Regions from separate parts of the Homo sapiens genome. Here all the other regions are linked to region 1. Evidence: promoter capture Hi-C in 16 types of primary human blood cells and fetal thymus (Javierre and others, 2016). All regions are on one chromosome and are shown on one strand. The core of a region is centred on a gene start or on the middle of the fragment in contact, and the rest is flanking DNA. Distances in the headings are between cores, read along the strand shown.

The links. Contacts are between HindIII fragments. The CHiCAGO score rates a contact against its expected background, and 5 or more counts as called.
Region 2: a fragment that was not itself captured here is called in contact with the fragment with the promoter of GUCY2F in region 1 in 1 of 17 cell types (M0 macrophages); the score reaches 5.3 in M0 macrophages.
Region 3: a fragment that was not itself captured here is called in contact with the fragment with the promoter of GUCY2F in region 1 in 2 of 17 cell types (M0 macrophages and M1 macrophages); the score reaches 9.1 in M0 macrophages.
Region 4: a fragment that was not itself captured here is called in contact with the fragment with the promoter of GUCY2F in region 1 in 2 of 17 cell types (M0 macrophages and M1 macrophages); the score reaches 6.5 in M0 macrophages.
Region 5: a fragment that was not itself captured here is called in contact with the fragment with the promoter of GUCY2F in region 1 in 1 of 17 cell types (neutrophils); the score reaches 5.1 in neutrophils.

Annotation. Positions count from the first base shown.
Region 1 is chrX:109,480,406-109,483,645 of GRCh38, reverse strand. GUCY2F (guanylate cyclase 2F, retinal) reads left to right here and starts at 1,560. Exons shown (of 20, transcript NM_001522.3): 1 at 1,560-1,780. The HindIII fragment of the contact is 1,102 bases long and covers 901-2,002 here.
Region 2 is chrX:108,581,183-108,584,398 of GRCh38, reverse strand. COL4A5 (collagen type IV alpha 5 chain) reads right to left here. Exons shown (of 53, transcript NM_033380.3): 17 at 1,462-1,515. Among named protein-coding and RNA genes, the nearest start is that of COL4A5, 140 kb to the right of the region's middle. The HindIII fragment of the contact is 812 bases long and covers 845-1,656 here.
Region 3 is chrX:108,710,912-108,714,199 of GRCh38, reverse strand. No RefSeq gene overlaps it. Among named protein-coding and RNA genes, the nearest start is that of IRS4-AS1, 24 kb to the left of the region's middle. The HindIII fragment of the contact is 863 bases long and covers 1,144-2,006 here.
Region 4 is chrX:108,688,020-108,691,518 of GRCh38, reverse strand. The region is part of intron 49 of COL4A5 (collagen type IV alpha 5 chain); the gene reads right to left. Among named protein-coding and RNA genes, the nearest start is that of IRS4-AS1, 47 kb to the left of the region's middle. The HindIII fragment of the contact is 955 bases long and covers 1,733-2,687 here.
Region 5 is chrX:110,016,258-110,019,512 of GRCh38, reverse strand. The region is part of intron 2 of TMEM164 (transmembrane protein 164); the gene reads right to left. Among named protein-coding and RNA genes, the nearest start is that of TMEM164, 15 kb to the right of the region's middle. The HindIII fragment of the contact is 7,123 bases long and covers 1-3,255 here.

The DNA.
Region 1 (3,240 bases), core at 311-2,810:
GAATTCAAATAGTATCTATCTCGTGGGGTCACTGTGAAGATCTAAGGAGACAGGGCTTCCAAAAATGCCTGTCACATCATTGGCACTCAGTAAGTATGATTATTGCCTAATTTATCTCAGTCTTGGCATCCTCATTTACAAAATGGAAAGAATGGGTAATATCCACCTTCATGGTTGTTGTGAACATAAAGATGTACATATAAGTATAATGTACATATAAAATGCCTGTCATACTTAAATAAAAAACTGATAGATAGTAACAAGTGTTGGTAAGAATGTAGGCAAAAAAGAACCCTCATATGTTGCTGGTGGGAATGCCAAATGGTGCATATACTTTGGAAAACAGTTTGCCAATTCAAAAAATGTTAAACATAGAGTTATTATATGACCCAGCAATTCCCTGGGTATATGCCAAAGAGAAATAAAAACAATATGTCCATATAAAAACTTTTACACAAAAGTAATAAAAGCAGTATTCATAATAGCCCAAGGTGGAAACAACCTAAATTTCCATCAACTGATCATGTGGTATACCCAAAAAAGTGGAATATTATTTGGCCACAAAAGAAATGAAGTACTGGTACAGGCTAGAACGTGCATGAACCTTGAAAACGGTTTGTTTTTCAAACAAAGTGTGTTTGGTTTTTTGTTCTTGCGATAGTTTACTGAGAATGATGATTTCCAATTTCATCCATGTCCTTCTTTCATTCAAACAAAGAAGCCACTCGCAAAAGATCACATGTTGTATGATTCCATTTATATGAAATGTTCAGAATAGGAAAATCCATAGAGAAAGTAAATTAGTGGTGGCCTGGGGCTAGGAGGAGGAGAGAAATGGGGAGTGACTTTTAAACAAGAATGGAATTTCTTTGTGGGAATAATGAAAATGTTGCACAAGCTTGTGAATATACTTTAAAAAAACCCTAAATTATATACTTTTGTGGTAGATAAATTATATCTCAATAAAACTATTATTAAAAAACATTTCTCATTTAATATAAGTCATTTTTAGCCCTTAACACCTCAGTTCTCACGTTGGGAATCCAGAACAGGGCCCTGAGTGAATGATGCCCAGGACAGAGAGGGACTTCTTAAGGAAAAGGAATACATCTAAAGTATGGGGAAACAATGTCTCTGTACAAAGGTGTAGAGGGAAGTAGGGAGTCTCTCTTGGGAGGAAAGGCAGTGAAGGCACTTAAGGGGAATAGGAGAAGGAGACAAAATTCACCTGCTTTGAATTTTGCAGGGAGCCAGCCTGGATCACCTTTTATATTCTGGGCTGGAATCACAGCTGATGAATGTTTTGGCATTTAGAACTGTCCTGGAGAAAGGGCGATTGGTGGTTATTAGACAGAATGGAACAAGGAAGAACACAGAGGCAAAATCTGAGAGTTTGTGTCTGACTTTGAAAGGTAAAAGAAGGCAGTAGTCTGTGGAGGACGTATTTATCCAGAGGACTCTATTTGTTTGTTAATCTCTGGGTCATTGCATTTAGGTCAGCACTAACTCTGCTACAGGTGGGATCAATTTAAAGGATTAGAAGTGTCACTCTAAATCCTAATCCAAGTCTTGGTCTGCGGATGCTGAAGAGTGATTTTCAAAACATTTACTAACGCTTTCAATTATTTACCCCATTAATGGAATTTGTCAACAGACTGGAGTCCTTGACAGGATTGTGAATGCATAGAGGATGCAAAGAAATGGACACACTGAGGTAGCTATGCCAGTGGTCTGCATGCGCAGGCAGTAAACTGAAGACATTTGAGCGGTGAATTACTTGGTGAGTAGTTGACAGCTCTTGTTTATAAGAAAGATTGTAATGGGGGGAAAAAAGACACAGCCCACCTGGGAGCTGAGACGCTGATTGAGATACATTAGTTTTACTGCAATATGTAGTAAAAAAAAAAATTTAAAGAATGAAGGAAAGAAGGAAAGAAGGGTTAAAGAGAGCCTTCGAGATACTTTAAGTCAAGATTTGAGCTCAAAGGCTCTCATCCAAGCTTTCGTTTAGTTTCTCTCATGATTCTTTTTTTATTGCTTCCTGATGTTGTCTTATACAAGCTGTTAACTTGATTCAGGCTGTAATTAGAAAGACAAATCAATCTTTCATAGAAGTCCTCGGCTTGACAAGCTGGTATGAGGAGCCATTTCCCTCAGAGCTATTTGTCATAGTCTTTCTTTGTACATGTTTAACGAACGGTGGTTTTCTGTGTGAAGCCAGGCTTCCCATCAGATTGTAAAAACTACCTGAAATGAAATTATGCATCCCTATGCTCTAGCCGCTTTCCATGGAAGTCTGATCCCATGCAGGTGTTCACACCTGAGTAACCTAGGCAATGGCCCCAGAACAACTGTGGGCCAGTAGTATTCTATTTCCAAAATTTCATACCTTCAAACTTTGTTTTAGTTATATCCACATTTCCCATTAACCCCAGGAAAGACTTTAGTGAGCTAATTTTTTTCCTTAAACCAAAATCAGCAGGTGGAGGTTTAGGGCATCCTCCCCCTATCTTGCCCCTTTCTTTCCCTCCCTCCCTCCCTTCCTTCCTTCCTTCCTTCCTTCCTTCCTTCCTTCCTTCCTTCCTTCCTTCCTTCCTTCCTTCTTCTCTCCCTTCATTCCTCCCTCCCCTTCTTTCCTTCCTTCTTTCTCTTCTTCCCTCCTTCCCTCTCCCTTCCTCCCCCTTCCTCTTTTCCTTCCTTCTCTCTTCCTCCCTTCCTTCCTTCCTTCCCTTCTTTTTTTCTTTTTTCTTTTTTAAAGAATAAGTTTCCTTCTGTAAAATCTTGAGTTGGGGGATCAAGACTAAATCCTACAGCAACATAAAACTTTCTGGTTGTCCAGGGAGTCCTAACAGAGTTAGAAATATCACCAAATGCATCACATCGGTACCAGAAAAAATGTAAGGGCAGACCTTCAGCTTGGGAAATGTTTATCTTGCAGTTAACAAAGGGAAAAGAGCAACAAAAACTGAGAGTGAATGCCAAGGGACACTTTGTGGCATGTGGCCTGAGGAGGGACCCGTGTTGTATGAATTTTAGAAATGGTATAAAAAATCTAACTTTTTAGAATTTGGGGTGGGCATTGTGCTTAGGAGTTACCTGGATTATAACACAAAAATGCCAGCCTTACACCTAGAATGGACAGTTAATCACTTTGATCTGAGGGGCACCAAAAGTTTCTTCATTTTTTTGCTCAAAAAGTAGTCCATCCTCCTTTGCCTACCTGCAACTGATGCTTGAAAT
Region 2 (3,216 bases), core at 1-2,500, 900 kb after region 1:
AGACCCAGAAATCAATCATAAAATACCTCAAATGAGAAATGCAACATGAAGTAATGAAACAATTCTGAGCTAAGCCTAACCTGTGATGGTGTCTCAGATTTACTAGCTATGTAATCTTCACCAAGTTAATTAACTTCTCTGGTTTATATAGAAAGAATAAAGATTTTTGGACCAGAGTTTTAAGGTATTTCTAGTTGTAATATTCTTTGATTTTTAAGATTCCTATTTCTAGCCAACTACAAATACTCTATAAAGAAGATAATAGAAAAAAAATGGTAGCACTAGAATCAGTGAAAAAATTACTTTTTTTTTTTTTTTTTTTTTTACATTTAGCCATGTTTCTTCTCATAAAACTAGTCAAGGACATAAATGTAGTGCCATTTCTATTAGTGACAGACATTTTAGATGTGATGGACTTAACTATCATCAATAATAGCTAGTAAATCTGAATTGCTTTCATGAGCTTGCTCTTAGAAGCTAATGAAAGACAAGTTCAGATAAAACTTTTATCCTTGATTAGTAGCTACAACAGCATGAAAAAAACCACAATATTCAATATTCAAGTGTTACTCTACTACTGGCCAAGACACAAGGATGGTCTTTTTCATACTTCTATTCTGACTCTAAACTTGTTCATAGAAGCCATCCATCTATATACAAATACTATTTGACAAAAAATCATTTTATCGGAGTATTTCCTACCTCCATCTATTCTAATTGTGCCTTTTAAGCCATGCTAGAACTTGGACCTAATTTAAAAATAAACCACCATTAAAATATGTGCCTTCTGGGTACATTCAAGTTTGTAACGCCTTTCCTTCCTTGCCTGAAAAACCAAAAAGCTTTCAGTTTTTGATACGAAGCAATTAAAAACAAGAGGGATTGGAGGACTGGTTATTTTGTGCCCTGCTAAAAATCTGGTAATTGTATGCTTCATACAATCTTTCAAAGTCACTTGAAAAATAGGTAACTAAATAAATGACCTCAGTCAGACTGCATTGGCCCAGTAGGGGGGAAAAAACAACAAAGAATTAGCCACAGACTTACAGACAATAATTGCATACAGAATGGAAATGTTTAGTGGCGACGTTCTACATTCACAGTTATAAGCCTTTTTAGTAAGAGGACCTCACTAAAATAGTGCTGAATTCTCTTTGTGGAAAAAAAGAAGTTTTGCCGATACATGCTCAAAGTAAAGGCAATGACTTTTCACAGTGGAAATGCTAAAGTTAAACAATGCTTAATGTATTTCTGCAACATGGACTGTGATTTATGGCAATGGAATAAAATTTAGCAAGTGTGGTATAAAAGAAAAATGAGCAAAAGATGAATAAAGAAGGCATATTTTGAATATAAAAGCTAGTTATGTAGACTTTTTCCATTTATAACTCAAGCCTGGGAGAAGAAAAGGATTATTTTAGCTAGACTAAACCAGTCACTTCAAAGTATTAAAATTCTTACCTTTTCACCATCCCTTCCGGGTTCACCAGGGTAACCAGGATCACCAGGCAAACCCTTTAAAACATAGAGGATAGGGTGACATCAGCACAAATGATGGTGTTAGGAAATCTCCAAAGATTGTCTTCTCCATAGAAGCAATGAGAATACTGGCAAAAATGGTCAGTCAGAATTAACTTTCAGAACTTAACCAAAGCTTGCAGCAATTCAAGGAGTGTTTTCTCAGAAAAAAAAAAAAAAAAAAAGCTGAATCTTGGTGAGAACTCAGAGCTTTGTGGCATTTTAACTTGCTCTATTCCTACCACCTCTCAGAGATTTATGGCATTTTAACTTGCTCTATTCCCACCACCTCTCAGAGCTTTGTGGCATTTTAACTTGCTCTATTCACACCACCTCTCCTCACAATCAAGGTGAAAACCAGCAGCCTAGCAGCAATTGGAGAGGAAAGAACAGGGTTGGAGCTCCTTCAAAGCCCCATATCCAGAGAATTATCATTATTTGATCTGTCTGCTGGTTCAAAAGAAGGCTATTTGCAAGGCTGCCTTTATTTGACCCAACTTGGGTTCTCCCAGTGCAAACAGAGAACAAGAGAACAGCCTCCCCACCCCGCAACCCCAATTTGTTGAAAACACTAAGAGGCAATTGTTGAATATCACAGCTGCCTGAATCAAGACAAAGACCAATTGTTCCAAAAGAAGCCAGGAACTGAGGCCCTGAATTTACCTCTTGATATTTTATAATATAAAATATTTTTGAACTAGAGATTGTAAGTTGAGGATTGCCTGTTTAGTAAAATATCCTGAAACCAATTTATCTGAATTTAGTAATTCTAACCTGTCTTGTTAAGAATTATCCTTTTCCCTTAGAATAACTTACAAATTTCATCAAATATTCTCTCTGTCTTTGAAAAACTCTTGCCTACTGCGGATACTCTTGATACTGAAGCTGCTTGAAATAATGTTCTTGGACTTACATATTTTATTTCCCATGCCCCTTTTTGGTAGTAAGTAGAAGAATTACCTGTCAAAACTTTTACTGAAAAAACATGTTCACACACACACAAAAAAACTGTATGGGAATATTTATATTCATATAAATATTTTTATATGAATATAAAAGTTTTATTCATAATGGCCAAAACACAGAAATAACCAAAATATCCTTCAATGTGTAAATGGACAAACAAACCATGGTATATTCAAACTATCAAATACTACTCAGCAATAAAAAAATGAACTGATACACAATTCAATGTATTATGTTATGTGAAAGGATCCTGATTCGAAAGGCTACATACAATATGATCCAATGTATCTGACATTTGGGAATAGGCAAAATTAAAGAGATTGACAAAAGATCAGTCGTTATAAGGGGGTTGGGATAGGGGAATAGGGAGGGGATAACTAAAAAAGAGCATGAGGGAACTTTTGAAGGTGATGGAAGTGTTCTTGATTATGGTGGTGGTGACACAACTGTATGTGTTTGTCAAACACAGAACTGTAAACTAAAAATAGTTCCTTTTACTTTATGTAAATTATATCTCAATAAATCTGACTTTAAAAAATAGAGGAACCTCAAATTTATATTTGGTGTAACTGGATTGTTTGTAATGCAAAGGATAAATGCTTGAGGGGATGAATACCCCATTCTCTGTGATGTCCTTATTTCACATTACATACATGTATCAAAACATCTCATGTACCTCATAAATAAATATATACACCTACTATGTACTCACAAAATTTTTTAAAAATTGAA
Region 3 (3,288 bases), core at 326-2,825, 770 kb after region 1:
ACTCCTGTTTGTTGTAGCACTGTTTACAATAGCTAAGATTTGGAAGCAACCTAAGTGTCTATCAACAAATGCACGGATAAAGAAAATATGGTACATATACACAATGGAGTACTATTCAGCCATAAAAAGAATGAGATCCAGTCATTTGCAACAACATGGATGGAACTAGCAATCATTAAGTGAAATAAGCCAGGGACAGAAAGACTAACATAGCATGTTTCCACTTATTTGTGGAATCTAAAAATCAAAACAATTCAACTCATGGACATAGAGAGTAGAATGAGGGTTATCAGAGGCTGGGAAGGATAGTGAAAGGTTGGGGGAGGAGGGAGTGGGGATGGTTAATGAGTATAAAAAAGTTAAAAAAAAATGAAAAGACCTAATATTTGACAGCACTACTATAGTCAATTGATTTATTATTGACTGTAGTCAATTGATTTACTGACTACAGTCAATAATAACTTAACTGTACATTTTAGAGAACTTAAAGAGTGTACTTGGATTGTTTGCAATTCAGTGGATAAATGCTTGTGGGAATGGATACCCTATTCTTTATTATGTACTTAATTCGTATTGCACGCATGTGTCAAAACAACTTATATACTCCATAAATATATACATCTACTATGTACTCACAAAATTTTTTTAGAAAAAGAAAAAGTAAAGAAATGTCAAAGGAATTCTCTCATACATGGAAAATAATACAACATGGAAATATAGATTTATACAAAGAAATGAAGAGCATTGAAAATGTAAACTATATATAAACTATTTTTATTATTTATTTCTTATTATTTAAATGAGGGCATTAGTGGAAATGGTGCTCTAAGAAACTCTGAAAATTCATTTCTCCATAAAAGCAAAGAGAACACTGAAAAAATTTTCAGAATCAACTCTTTAAGAACTCTGAAAATTAACAAAAGCCTTGTAGCAATCTGGGGAGTGTTTATTTAAGAAAAATGTCTGCATCTCAATAAGAACAGTGAGATTCCTAGTATTTTAACTTGCTCTATTCCCATCTCCCTCTCCCCAAGCTCTATAGTAGCCTAGTAAACTAATAGCCCTCAATCATAATCATGATGAAAGTCACTCACCTGGTAGCCACTGGAGGGAGCAGAAAAGGGTTGGAGCATTTTGAAAGCTTCATTCCCAGAGAACGGCCATTATTGACCTGTCTGGTGATTCTGTGGACACCCTAATCACAAGGCTTGTCATTATTTGCCCTGACACAGAGCTCTGCCCATGCAAACAAATTTTCTTTGGGGGCATTTGTTGAAAACACTCAGTGGCAATTGTTTAATATTGCAGCTGCCTGAGGTGGTGAATGACAGTTGGGGAAAACATTAGGCTAACTAAAAATCTGAAAAAGAAAATGGGAGGGAGAATGAGATGCCCATAGGAGACTTTGAAAAGTTATAAAATAGTTTGAAGAACCTAGAAGAAAAAGTACAGGTGTAGTGATATGATAATGCCCAGGGCTATGTACAGGCTCAGGAGAGGCATGAGAAGGCCCAAATCTCTCATCACTGCCTAATCTTGAGGCTTCTATATAAGCAAGGAGTGAAGACTAAGGCAGAGCTAAAAACTGCCTAGCTGAATGTTGAAAATGTGTCCTAATGAGCACACAGAACCACTCAGAAATGACTGGGAGATTTATTAATCCTAGTCATTTAGGGAAATCTCTCTAAAATAATTAGCTGGAAACCAATTTAACTGAGCAAAGACTTTAGTGGCTACACATAACAATTCAGATTTTACAAAATTAGTACAGAAACACCATTAAACAAACAAAAGACAACAAAAAATAGCAACAACAACAAACTCTGGGAGTTGGGGGTAGTGGTGGAATCTGGTTTCCAAAGTTGCCAGATTATATTATTTTAAATGTCCAATTGTGAATAAAAAGTATGAGAAGTAAAAAAAAAAAAAAAAAAAAAAACCAACAAGGAATTACGGCTGACACACAGGAAAAGGAGCAATCAATAGAAAGTGTTCTTGAGGAAGCTTTGACCTTAGACTTACTAGACAAAGACTTTTGAATTAGCTATTTCAAGTATGCTCAAAGAACAAAAGGAGACCATGTTTATAGGACTAAAGAAAAGTCTGGGAAGGATCTCTCACCAAATAGACAATATTGATACAGAGAGAAATTATAAAAAGAACTAAGCAGAAATTCTGGAGTTGAAAAGTACTGAAATAAAAAATGTACTAGAGGGGCTCAACAATAGATTTGGACTGGCAAAAGAAGGAATCAGTACCTTTGAAGATAGGCCCAATGAGTTTATCTAGTCTGATAAACAGAAAGGTAAAATAATTTTTTTAAAAGTGAGCAGACCCTCTGAGAAATATGGGGCACCATCAAGCATACAAACATGCATATAATGGAAGTACCAGAAGGAAAGGAGAGTATACAGGGGCAGAAAGAACATTTGAAGAAATAATAGCCAAAATCTACCCAAATTTGATGGACTACATTAATATATACATCCAAGAAGCTCAACTCCAAGTAGGAATAACTCAAAGACAACCTCAGCGAGATACGTTATAATTAAACTGTCAAAAGTAAAAAAGACCATTTCTCCAAAGATATACAAATGGCTAATAAGCACTTAAAAAGAGTCTCAACATCACTAATCATTAGGGAAATGTAAATCAAAACTGCAATGAGATAACACCTTACATCTCTTAGGATGGTAACTATGAAAATAATCAGAAAATAATAAGTGTTGGTGATGACGTAGAGAGGTCGGAACCCTTGTACACTATTGATGTGAACGCAAAATAGTACAGCCATTGTGGAAAACAGTATAGTGTTTCCTCAAACTTATAAAAGCAGAATTACTGTAAGATTCAGCAATTTCATGTCTTGTTATATACCCAAAAGAATTCACAGCAGGCTCTCAAAGAGGTATTTGGACAGCCATGTTAATAGGAATATTATTCACAATAGTTAAAACATTGAAGCAACCCAAGTGTTCATCAACAGATGAATGGATAAGCAAATGTAGAATATAAATACAATTGAATATTATTCAGCCTTAAAAAGGAAGAACATTTTGAAATATGCTGCAACATTGATGAACCTTGAGGACATTAGGCTAAGTGAAATAAACCGGTCACAAAACCACAAATACTGCATGATTCCATCTATGAGTTACTTAAAGTAGTCAAAATCATACAGAAAGAAGGTAGAATGGTGGCTGCTAGGGGCTGGAGGGAGCGGAAAATGGAGAGTTATTGTTTAATGGGTATAGAATTTCAGTTTTATAAGATAAAACAGTTATGTAG
Region 4 (3,499 bases), core at 961-3,460, 790 kb after region 1:
AAATATATGTATTATAAATTTTTATATAATTATTACAAAAAAACTTTTATTAGAAACGTATTTCTTAGAAGGTTGGATTAAAAGTGAATTACAGAGCTTGAGTTAATGGAGACTTTAACAAAACCATTAATTTTTTATTTGTGCAAAATTATGGGGCACATGAACATTTTTTTTATGTATATAATCCATAGTGATCAAGTCAGGGTATTTAGGGTGTCCATCACTCATGTACAATATATTTTTTAAGTATAGTCATTCTCTTCTGCTATCAAATATGGAATTAATTCCTTCTATCTTACTGTATGTTTGTATCCCTTAACCCACTTCTCTTCATCCTCCCCATTCCCCACACTTACCCTTCCAAGTCTCTGCTACCTGTCTTTCCACTCTCTGCCTCCATGTGTTCAAATTTTTAGCTCCCATATATACGTGAGAACATGTGATACTTGTTTTTTTTGTGCCTGGCTTATTTCACTTAAGATAATGACTTCCAGTTCCAACCATGTTGCTGCAAATGACATGATTTCATTTTTTATATGGCTGAATAATATTCCATTGTGTATATATACCACATCTTCTTTATCCATTCATCCTTTGTTGGATACTTAGGTTGATTCCATATCTTTGCTATTGTGAATAGTGCTACAATAAACATGTCAGTGTAACTATCTCTTTGATATACTATTTTCCTTTGGGTAAATATCCAGTAATGGGATTGCTGGATCTAACGGTAATTGTATCTTTAGCAAAGCTGTTATTTTGAATTATCCCTTTGAATTTGTCTGTCAGAGGTTTTCATACTTCAAGGCAATGTGCAAGAGTATGACTCTTACAAAGTGGGGAATGCATGACAGTGAAAGGAGACAAAGGAGACATGGGAAAGGAGATTGCCCAAAGCACATCTGCTAAAGTCAGATTGACTTTAGGAGAAAATACATATAAAAGTCGAGGAGTTGAAATTTGATTTTTAAAAAATAATGCCTCTGTGCATCATGGAAATTCTTCATATATTCAAAGGGGTATGCTTATCTCAGACTGAAGATGACTGATAAAAGACCAATAGATCTTAAACCTGTATTATCAGAATTATTTGGAATTTTTATACAATGGATTTGGCATAAGACTAGGAGTCTTAAAAAATTCCCTAGGTTGAAAATCATTGATTTAGTCTAATTTATCCCTTTCAAAAACTCGTTAAGAAAAACCTGACTGACTCACAGTCATGTAAGAGTGAACAACATGGGAAAATTTAAAAAGAAATGGATTTAGAATTGGCAGGTGTTACCTCCATCACTTTCTAACTGTAAGTTATTTAACCTATTAGCCAGTCTCTTTGTGTATAAAATGAAAAAGCAGAATATTTATATACATTTTTCTTAATCATAGTTGTGTAAATTAAATTAGACAATGGACATGAAAGTGCTTTGTACATTATAAAGTAATTTAAAAAAACCTATTCTACTGCCTAATTTGGGACAGAGCTGAAAATATCCAGTCTCGTAAGGAAAAGAAAGGTAAATAAAAGGAAGGCCCATAATGATGGAAGTATCTGGAGTATCTGGTTGCACCTGTGGCTGCCCACAATGATGCAGAATTCTGGGTTATAGTCTCCAAATTTTCGAAGAGAGAGTGATCCCATATACTCCCAATGCCCTCTATACCCCATAGTTATAAGACTTTAATAGACTAATGGTTCTCAGTATGTTTTTCTTTTCTCCCAGACAGAAAAGCTTTAGTATTTAATCCATCTTCTCTGTCTTCTTTCTTACATCCTATAATCCTTCCACTAATTCAACACAGACTGCATTTATTCGATCAGGAGGTAATTGTTTCTTTAACATCAAAGTGACAGCTGCCTGTATCTTTGCTTAGTCATCAAGATACTTCCAATGTGATCCTTGTGTGAGCCCCAGCAGAGCCTCTGCAATCCAGGACCATTCCTAGGATCTTGGGCTCCGTCATGGCCTTCCTGTGTCTGAGGCCTAAACTGTACCAGAGTCAGGGCCAGTTTATAGATTCCAAATCTGATTGTTCTTATTAGAGAAAATACATGGATTCTGAAAAGTTATAATTACATGCTGATAGCAGATTCCATCTTCTAACTGCATTACATTTTTGAATTCGTAGTGCTCAAAACTTATAATGGTTCCTCTGTTGACCTGGTAGGTTAGGGATTTGAAGTTTAAAGTTTGATTATAAGTCTGACAGTGTAGAGAGAATGAACAAAAAAGAAATTTATAGGAGAAAGACTAGAGAAAATTACCTGAAGATATTAAATTAAATTAATTATTTAGATATTTATTATTCGATTAAATTATGGAAAGATAATTTAATTACTAATTTAATGAAGATTGGTCAATTATAAAATTTAAAAAGATGTAACCAAGTGAAAAGGAGAAAGAAAAGTAGCAGAGGAAAGTTGAAAAGGAGAAAAAGGAAATATAAACGGAAGAAAAAAAGAAGATGGAAAAGAAAGCTATTGGGCAAACCCTTACATTATTTGGTTTCATAAAATGGCCTATGACCACTGACTTACATGTAAGTGAATATCCTTACCCTGGTGGGCCAGAACTGGTGTGGCCATATGCCTTGGAAAAATAGGGAGTAAAGCTGACCTCCGGGGTCTCTGCTGCTGCAGAAACATTTCCACAGAATGAATGGCCCAGACAATGAGATCTCAGGAAGCTTCTCATCATAGAGATCCCAGAAACTGGGAGCCCAGACTATCTTCTTAAATGTCTTTATGGAGGCAAAGGGGATAGTCAGTCTTAAAATAGGCAGCCCTGCCAGGTGCGGTGGCTCACGCCTGTAATCCCAACACTTTGGGAGGCAGAGGTGGGCAGATCACGAGGTCAACATTTCGAGACCAGCCTGGCCAACATGGTGAAACCCCGTCTCTACTAAAAATACAAAAATTAGCCAGGCATGCTGGCGGGCGCCTGTAATTCCCAGCTACTTCGGAGGCTGAGGCAGAAGAATTGCTTGAACCTGGGAGGCAGAGGTAGCAGTGAGCTGAGACCACGCCATTGCACTCCAGCCTGGGCGACAGAGCGAGGCTCCGTATCAAAAAAAAAAACAACACAACAACAACAACAACAACAAAATGCAGCCCCAGGTAAGACAATGGGACTTCAACATCCAAAGTCAGAATTCCAGGAAAAGAATTCATGGGGATGGAAGAGTCCTTGAGAGTGATTTAGTCCCCTCATCCCATCAACCTAGCTGTCCACCCCAGTATAGAGAAGATACATGGGAACACCTTAAATGAACTGGATTTTGTACAGAAATGTCATACTTTATATAGCTTTAAATGACTCCAGCAATACTTTATAAAGCTAAGGCACTTATTTTAGGAACTACAAACTAGCATAATTAAGCAATGACCTTACTTTCTTTGATCTATGAACCAAGATTCTCTTCAGAACTTATGAACTTGATGAAGACCAGTTTCAAAGATGAGGTAAGTATCTCCCAGGAATTATAAACACTGCACACTCAA
Region 5 (3,255 bases), core at 151-2,650, 540 kb before region 1:
TAAAGGGTCGAGTAGTAGATAGAGTAAAGGATAGAGTAGTGTAAAGGATAGAGGAGAGAAGATCAATCACAAGGCTGCTCTAACAAGACAGGTGATGATGATGACAGTGATAAACAACAACATGAACCAGGGCAGGGGAATCAAAGAAGAAAAGGAAGAGAAATGGAAGAGATCATGAAAGGCAGAATCAAGATGACTGAGACTATGATGATGAAAAGGAGGAAGAGGGTGGAATTGAGATGTATCAAGGTTTCTAGGGATTTAACCTGGGTCACTGGATGGATTGTGATGCTGTTAAATAAGATAAGAGTACTGAAGGAACAGTATCATGGCAGATGATACTGTTTCATTCCAAATCCCCCAACCACTTTACTTAGGATGCATGGCTTTCAAGCCCTCTTGAGTACACTGGGAAGAAAAAAGCAGGATCTACATTGCTTGATGGCCCCAGCATTTATATAACCCTACATACAAACCTACCTTTCTCCCTTTTGCCAGGCTACCAAGGAAATAACATCAATATCTGATTCTAGAAACAGGTGGCCTAGGGAATGTTTAAATGTTCCTGCTCTCAAGACATGATGATTGTTCTCATTTTGATAGCACTTTCTTATATTCACAGCACATTCATATATTCACAGCACATTCACATACCTTATTTGACTTGATTCTCATATTTACCCTATAAGGTAAGAAGGGCAAAGATCATCTCTGTCTTACAGATGATAACAGCCATACTCATATTTATTAAACACTTGCCATGCACCACTATTCTAAACACTTCACATGTAGTCATGCATTTAATTCTTACAAGAACCCCATAAAGTAGATACTACTATTAATCCCCATTTTGCAGATAAGAAAACAGACCCAGAGGCTTTAGGTATACTGGTCTAGCAATAAACAAGAAAAATAATGAACTTGGAAGACCTCAAACAAAATAAAACAAAACAAATCAAAAACCATGCCTAGATATGTCAATTAACTTTCCCAGAGTTGCACAGCTAGAAAGCAGCAGAACTGGGATTTGAACCTGACTAGTCTGGCTCCAGAGCCTGCACTTTTAACTACCACACTCTATTTCTTATTATATAAGAAGACTGAGGCACAGAGAGGCTACCTGAATGGCCAAAATTACTCAGTTTTGTCAACCAGCTAGTGATGAACCTACAACCAGGACCCAGGTCTGGCTAACCCTTAATCCAGTGCTGTTTCTACTACTCAACCAAGATGAACTAACCTCTACTACTGGGCTGACAGATTATTCTGACGTTTTTCTTCTTTGGCCTTTGTCACCTCTGCTAGACTAAGGTTCTAATTTTGATCCCTTGCCCTGGAGCCCCATACAACTGTTTACTAGGATTAGATGCAGGCCTCTATTTGGAGGCAGGAAATGATGGCCTCAGTTATATCCGCAGCTGAGTGGGTCCCATTTCCAAACAACCAACATCTGCAAGCAACCCATACTGGCTCTACATGCAGGCTCAGTGAGCACACACATCCCTGTGAACTGTCTGTCCAGGGCAAACAGCAAGTAATGGTGACACCAGGGCCAGACTCCTCTGTGGAAGACAGGAAGCAAGGGCAGGAAAGTAAATTGAAAAAAACAGTTGCTATACCAGCCAGGTAAAGAGGTGGCCTGCAGGCCGGGCGCAGTGGCTCACGCCTGTAATCCCAGCACTTTGGGAGGTGGAGGCAGACAGATCACCTGAGGTCAGGAGTTCGAGACCAGCCTGACCAACATTGAAAAACCCCATCTCTACTAAAAATACAAAATTAGCCGGGCATGGTGGGGCATGCCTGTAATCCCAGCTACTCGGGAGGCTGAGGCAGGAGAATCGCTTGAACCCAGGAGGCGGAGATTGCGGTGAGCCAAGATCATGCCATTGTACTCCAGCCTGGGCAACAAGAGTGAAACTCCGTCTCAAAAAAAAAAAAAATGAAAGAAAGAAAGGAAGGAAGGAAGGAAGGAAGGAAGGAAGGAAGGAAGGAAGGAAGGAGGGAGGGAGGGAGGGAGGGAGGGAGGGAGGGAGGGAGGGAAGGAAAGAAAGAGAGAGAGAGAGAGAGAAAGAAAGAAAGAAAGAAAGAAAGAAAGAAAGAAAGAAAGGAAGGAGGTGGCCTGCAGCCAGGAGATCCTCACTTTCAAGAAGGCAATAAACAATGATGCTCAAAAAGCACAAGATTTCCATTTCTCTAATAGTGAGCAAGAAGAAAAGTCTAGTTCCTTTCATGCTGGAAGGTTAAGGATAGAAGGAGGCCATGTGTGGTATTATAGAGAGATATTGAAATGGGAGTCAGGAGACTCAGCTCTGCTTCTATTTAGCTGTGTGACTTTGGGCAAATCACTTCACCTCTCTGGGTCTCAGTTTGCTCATCTGGAAAACAAGGGATGAAAAAGAAACAAATTAGTTGTTCTCAGAGGTTTCTTTCAGCTCTGATTTGGTATCACTCTGCCATTTTAACAACCTGAGAAAGTACAGCTAGAACATCCAGTGCCTATAGTCTACCAAAGGGGAAATCAGCTAGAAGCAAAGAAAAGAAGAATTAGATAAAACAGGCCAGGTGTGGTGGCTCACTCCTATAATCCCAGCACTTTGGGAGGCTGATGCAGAAGAATCGCTTGAGCCCAGGAATTCAAGACCAGCCTAAGCAACATGGCAAGACCCCATCTCTACAAAAAACAAAAACATTAGCTGGGCGTGGTGATGCGTGCCTGTGGTTCCAGCTACTTGGGAGGCTGAGTCAAGAGGATCGCTTGAGCCCAAGGGGTCAAGGCTGCAGTGAGCCATATTCATACCACTACACTCCAGCCTGAGCAACAGAGCAAGACGTTGTTTCAAAAAAACAAAAAATTACATGAAACAAAAAACAACCTTTCTGGAAGGCTGCAAATGAGGTAATACACAGGCAGTAGACTAAGCACCATGCCTAAAGCATAATTAACGTGTATTCAAAAATGTTACAAGTGTTATTACTACCACTCCTCACTTTTCTGAGAGTGTACAAAGATAACCAGAAATTATAGTGAGTTTTCTCCTAAATTCGACTCTTTTTTGCCCATCCGGCCCTGTTACACATTTCCAGCGTTTTAAAGGCCTAAGGGAGGTCCTAAATGATCAGGGGCACCAGCTGTCCTTAATGTCCACAGACAGTTATAACTGAAAAGCAAGAACCCAACGTCAAGGAAAGAAGGGAAAGAGAAAATACAAGTGGCAAGAGCCAGGATTAATCCTCCATTCACTGCAAACTGACTGT